2 separate regions of the Homo sapiens genome follow, and region 2 is linked to region 1. Evidence: promoter capture Hi-C in human tissues and cell types (Jung and others, 2019). All regions are on one chromosome and are shown on one strand. The core of a region is centred on a gene start or on the middle of the fragment in contact, and the rest is flanking DNA. Distances in the headings are between cores, read along the strand shown.

Evidence for each region. The method cuts DNA at HindIII sites, captures the fragments that hold promoters and counts their contacts. A contact is called where the count stands out against the background at its distance.
Region 2: a fragment that was not itself captured here is called in contact with the fragment with the promoter of FLT3 in region 1 in 1 of the 25 tissues and cell types used here (stomach).

The regions. Positions count from the first base shown.
Region 1 is chr13:28,099,013-28,102,068 of GRCh38, forward strand. It overlaps FLT3 (fms related receptor tyrosine kinase 3), which reads right to left and starts at 1,564. Exons shown (of 24, transcript NM_004119.3): 1 at 1,456-1,564. The coding sequence starts at 1,498. RefSeq lists silencers at 1,398-1,557, 1,678-1,737 and an enhancer at 1,848-1,977. The HindIII fragment of the contact is 18,739 bases long and covers 1-3,056 here.
Region 2 is chr13:28,162,034-28,165,089 of GRCh38, forward strand. The region is part of intron 1 of PAN3 (poly(A) specific ribonuclease subunit PAN3); the gene reads left to right. Among named protein-coding and RNA genes, the nearest start is that of PAN3-AS1, 24 kb to the left of the region's middle. The HindIII fragment of the contact is 8,119 bases long and covers 1-3,056 here.

The DNA.
Region 1 (3,056 bases), core at 314-2,813:
TATTTGGGCACGTACATATGTGAAAACTAATGAAATTGTACTCTTAAGATGTGTGCATATTTACTGTGTGCCAATTATACTTCATTTAGAAATATCTGGAGAGAGAGACATAGAAATTTCTGAATTCTTTCCTAAATAGAAAAGAATTCCATGCAGCTTAAATATCGTTGCAAGTATTGATGCTTATACCTTTAGAAAGCCCATTATGCTTCTGAAAAATGCACTTACTACTTAATATCATACATAATAGAAAGCTAACATTTTGTATTAACGGAATCTGGAAAACATATTGTACTACACATTTGAAATTACAGATTTACTAACTAGTAAAGATAACTATTTAAGAACTAAAATGTCTTTGTTTTTCAACTCTTTTCCCCCGATTTCCATTTTTTACTTTTTATATTTCAGAATTATTTGTAACAAAAGCTATTGGATATAATTCCTGCACTTCTATATTGCAAGCATTTTCTCTATTTACCACAGAGACTTCAAGTCCTAGCATTTCAGAGCTGAAGGGGACTCGGACGGACTCCCTCACTGCACAGATGAGGACGCGGAGGCCGGGGGAGGTGAGTGTCAGTCCCAAGGTTGCAGACCTAGGACAGGGACCGGAGCTGCCGGGCACCCAGAACTCTGTCGCCTTCAACCCAAATTCGATTCAGTCCTCTCATCTTTCCAAATAGAAAGCTGACGCGAACCGATGGGAAGATTTTTTTTTTCAATAACAACTATGCTACCCAGCAGATTCTTTGGGGACAGTCCTCGGAGTCCTTGAAAACCCCTTTGGGGTTTATGCCAGGATAAGAAGAGACTAGAAGAAAGGGACAGCTAGTATTTTAATATGTAAATCTGTTTGCATAATATTTCCTAGGTAAACTATTCGTTGATCCAACCAAAATTCGGCGGGGCTGGGGGGTATCGTTATTGAGGATGACTCGCTCTAGGGGAGAACGCGGACGCATTTTCCCATCAGAGTTCCCTCCATAAATCAAAACCTCAAAAGAAGAGTTAAAGACGACACCCAGGTGTCTACAGTATCCAAGGGCCGGGCCAGGAGAGGTCCTTGGCCACCTGGCGCCGAGTTCGCGGCCGCAGACTCCCACGGACGGCCCAGCACCCGAGCGCGCGGGCCGAGCTGCCCCAGACCCGGCGCAGCGCCTCGGCGAGGCCGTCTGCGAAGTCCGGGCCGCCACTCGGGACCGCGGCCCGAGCCAGAGGAGAGACTTCGGAGAAGAGGGAAGAGGACGCGGGGTGGGAAACGCCGGGGCCGCAGGCAAGTAGTGGGCGAGTCCGGAGGGCGCGAAAGAGGGGAGGGGCGCGGGAGGCAATGGAAGGAGCGAGCGCGGGGAGGAGCGAGGCGGCTGGGCCGGAGGAGGCGCGCGCCCGGGTCCACACTGCGGGGTGGGGGCTGAGGGACCGCGAGGGGCTGCGAGCGAGCGAGCGGGGCCTTACCGAGCAGCGGCAGCTGGCCGCCGTCGCGCGCCAACGCCGGCATGGCCTCCGGAGCCCGGGGTCCCCAGGCCGCGCCGGCCCAGCCCTGCGATGCCGCCTGGAGCGGCGCGCCTCGCGCTGCAGGTGGCTCTCTTAAGGATGCGCGTCACCGACCGCAAATTCCCTCGGACTGGTGCAAAGTGGAAGGGGGGAGGAACCCTCTCCCCAGAGGCAGGGACCGAGGCGGGAGCGGAGAGGTTGGGCAGAGCCGAGCAGCCGGTGCCTGGCGCAGCGCTGCAGCCGAGCCCACGTGCCCGCCGCGGTCCGCAGCCTGTGCTCGGCGGCCCCCGGGGCTCCCCGACTGCGGCGGGGAAGATTGGGCGCGGTCCCGCCGGAGAAGTTGCACTGGCTCCGCGGCTCTGCCGCCTTGCTGCCCCTGTGAGTCCCCGAACTCTGTCGTTTGGATCCGGGGCGTGGGGACTGCAGGGAGCCACAAACCACCCTCCTAGTGCGCTGGGATCTTTGAGGCCCTGAGAAAGGCGCTGAATCCGCTCGGCACGCTGGCAACTCCCGCCAGCGCACAGGCGAGCATTCCATTAAGAACCATTCCATTCTTAATTGTGGACTGATTTCCTTTGTCTCTGCCTCCATCTCCTAGGATGCTCAGGACCCAGTCAGCGGCGGGATCAAGAAAAACAGGCAGGGTTTCAATGTCAACCAAGGCAATTAGGGAGGTTAACAAACAGCCTTCAAAACAAAACACACAGAAAATACATCCCAGAGGATGTTGCGAATCATCCGCTCAATAGTTCTTGTTCTTCATCGCATAATTTTTCGAGTTGAAAATTATTATTATTTTCTTTGCAATAAGTTGAGGATTGGAAAGCTCTGGATGCCAGTTCTGGTTCTTCCCTTACTTAACTAGCCGTTTGACCTCCACAAACCTCTGTTTACTCATCGTAAAGGAAAGGGATGGACCAAATGGTTCATAATGTCTCTCCCAATTCTAGGAATTCCACGCTCTTAATTATTTTAATTATTTTCTAATAAAGCATGAAAATTGACTGTTTACTCTTGGCCATACAGTTCTTTTCCTTAGATGTTGTCTACAGTACAATAATTCTTTCCCCTAGGGTATGGCAGAAACTTTAGAAGTGTCTACCATGGTGCAGCCACTATGGAAAACACTATAGAGGTTTCTCAAAAAATTAAAAAAAATACGGTCCAACAATTCCATTTCTGGCCATGTAGCCAAAAGAATTGAAAGCAGGGTCTTGAAGAGATGTCTGTACACCCGTGTTGAAAGCAGCATTATTCACAGTAGTCAAAAGGCAGAAGTAACCCATGTCCACAACAGATGAATGATAAACAAAAATGCAGTATATACATACGACTGAGTATTTTTCAGCTTTAAAGAGGAGGGAAATTCTGATACAGCTAAAATATGGATGAATCTTGACATTATGCTAAGTGAAATAAGCTAGTCCCAAAAAATACAATACTGTATCCCATTACAAATTCATAAAGACAGAAAGTTAAATGGTGGTTACCATGGGCTGGGGGCAGGGGGAAATGGGGAGCCAGTGTTTAATGGATACAGAGTTTCAGTTTTGCAAGATGAG
Region 2 (3,056 bases), core at 285-2,784, 63 kb after region 1:
TCAGAAAAAGCAGGCTACTTTTTGCAAATAAATAAGTAGATTTGGCACCTAATATCAACTGGGCATGCCAGTATACTGAATTAACACAACAACCTTGGAAAGTAGATGCTACTGTTTTAGTGTTACAGAGGAAGAAACTGAGACTTAAGTATACTGTTGAAGGTTAGTAGTTGGCAACTGGCTGAAACAGACCTCATGGTCAGTATTTGTTAAAAGTCTATGCTCATTCCACAATCCGATAAAGAAAAGGATGGTGTGAGTATCTGCTGAGGGGGTAGAGGAGCCCCTGTTTCTTGGGCCTGCACTCACTGTACTGTCATCTGGCATCTCTGAGGTCTCAGTTTCCTCATTGGAAAAGTGGAGGCAATCAGCCGGGTGCCGTGGCTCATGCCTGTAATCCCAGCACTTTGGGAGGCCGAGGCGGGTGGATTGCATGAGCTCACGAGTTTGAGACCAGCCTGGGCAACATGGCGAAACCCCACCTCTACTAAAAATACAAAAAATTATATGGGCGTGGTGGCGCACACCTGTAGAACCCAGGAGGTGGAGGTTGCAGTGAGCTGAGATCACGCCACTGCACTCCAACCTGGGCAACAGAGTGAGACTCTGCCTTAAAAAAAAAAAAGCATTTAATTGAAAATAAAAGTTTGTACAAATGTGCTAGGCTGGGCTCAGTAACTCATGCCTGTAGTCCCAGTACTTTGAGGGGCCAAGGAGGGAGGATTGCTTGAATTCAGGAGTTTGAGGCTGCAGTGAGCTGATTATGCCACTGCACTCCAGCCTGGGTGACAGAGGGAGACTTTTTCTCAAAAATAACAACTTGCCACCAAGCTTAAAAAAAAAAAAACCTAACAAAAATGTGCTATTAGATTAAGGAGTACCAAAAAGTGAAAGGTGTGCATAATTACAGATACATACAGTGTAGTTACAGATAATTTAAGGCCGAATGCAGTGGCTTACACCTGTAAACTCAGCACTGTGGGAGGCCAATGCAGGAGGATCACTTGAGCCCAGGAAGTTTTTTTTTTGAGACAGCATCTTGCTCTGTCACCCAGGCTGTAGTGCAGTGGTATGATGACAGCTCACTGCAGCCTCAATTTCCTAAGCCCAGGAGTTCGAGACCAGCAACATAATGAGACCCTGTCTCTACAAAAAATAATAAAAAATAAATTCAAAACAAAACAAAGATAAGATAATTTACATTAGTAGATAGTACAGAAATACCTGAAAATGTAAAGGCTTAAATACTGTAGTTGAAGACAGCAATAAAAAGTCAAAAGGAAGTTTTTTTTTCTCAAATGAGTGATATAAATAGTATCTTAAGAGGTAAAGGTTTTAACAGCTTGGAATAATTGGGGAATACTTTCTAGAGAAGGGCAAATTAAAAAATAATGTTTATGATGACCTGTTAGAAAACATACTAGGCACTTTACATAGATTATTTCATTTGATTCCACACCACAACCCTATGAGTGAGATGGTATTTAACCTCTTTTTTCAGATGAAGAAATGAAATTTACAGTTACTTGCTCATGCTCATATAGTATGTAAATGGCACAAGTAGGACCCAAACTCAATGTGTAACTCCAAGTATTTTTTCTTTCTCATCATACCTGAGTCTTGAGTATGTATATTAGAAATTGATTATACTCCAGATGGTAAAGTGTGGGAGATTTTAAGCATATAATGAGTATATCATTGTAACTGGAGGAGAAAGTTCAATCGTTATATGATTCTTGTAAAGATCTTACAGTAGATGTATACTTTTATTACTTTACGCCATGATCTTTAATCTTTTGTAAATATTGGTGTAAGGTATTCAGTTTTTTCCCTAGATGGATACTCAGTTGTCTTAAGTCCATTTACTGAATAATCCCCCTTTTCCTCTACTAATTAAACGAAAAGTTTTATTGGCCAGGCATAGTGGTGTGCGCCTGTAGTCCCAGCTACTTGGGAGGCTGAGGTGGGAGGATTTCCTCAGCCTGGGAGGCAGAGATTGCAGTGAGTTGAGATTGTGGCACTGCACTCCAGCCTGGGCAACAGAGCTGTCTCAAAAACAAAACCAAACCAAAACCTTTATTGAAATGTAATTTACATGCTATTAAATTCACCTATTATAAGTACAATTCAGTTATTTTTAATAACTGTATAGAGTTATACAGTTTTTTAAAATAACTTTAAGATATTGTTTTTCATAACTCTTAATTGAAGTTTTCTTGGTAGATGGTATGATTTTCATTTTATAATTCATGGCATAATCTGCATCTTATAAGCATTTTGCCCAAGACTTTGTGGCCAGTAAATGGCAGAACCAAGACTCAAACTCAGCACCTTTTAGAAGTATTAGCATGATAGTTGAGAACAAATTGTTGAGGATATGCTAATGTCAAACTAAGAAGTTTGGATTTCATCCTTTAGCGTGAGCATCGCCAGCATCTTCTCTGTAATGCCCTACTTGGCACTTGTAGCTGGGTACTTTTTGGAAAATGTCTTCTATGATGGAACTCTAGTCTCTGAAGATGTTCCATGTAGAAAGGGTTCCCTACTCAAGTAAATTTGGGAAGTACTCTGACTTCTTTTTGGATGATCACAGTTCACATTGTATACACACATCCTGGGAAGTTGTACAGTAAAGAAATGGGTTTACTTGTTTTTACTCATTTTCCCCCAGAATTTTCCAAGTTTCTTGACCATAGATGACCTTTTGAGTAACACTGCTCTAGTATGATGTTTTTGGAGAATTAGACTCAATTCATTAAGAGGGGTTAAGTCTGAAGAAGAAAATTAAGCTGCAGGATTGGATTTTTTTAAAAAGTAGGTTATAATTGTGTACATTTATCTGTTAATAGTCATGGGGTAACTGCTGACAGATGGAGAAGTTCTTATTTTTTTTTAGACCGAATCTCACTCTGTTGCCAGGCTGGAGCGCAGTGGCGCGATCTCAGCTCACTGCAACCTCTGCCTCTCAGGTTCAAGTGATTCTCCTGCCTCAGCCTCCCGAGTAGCTGGGACTACAGGCATGTATCACCACGTCTGGCTAATTTTTGTATTTTTAG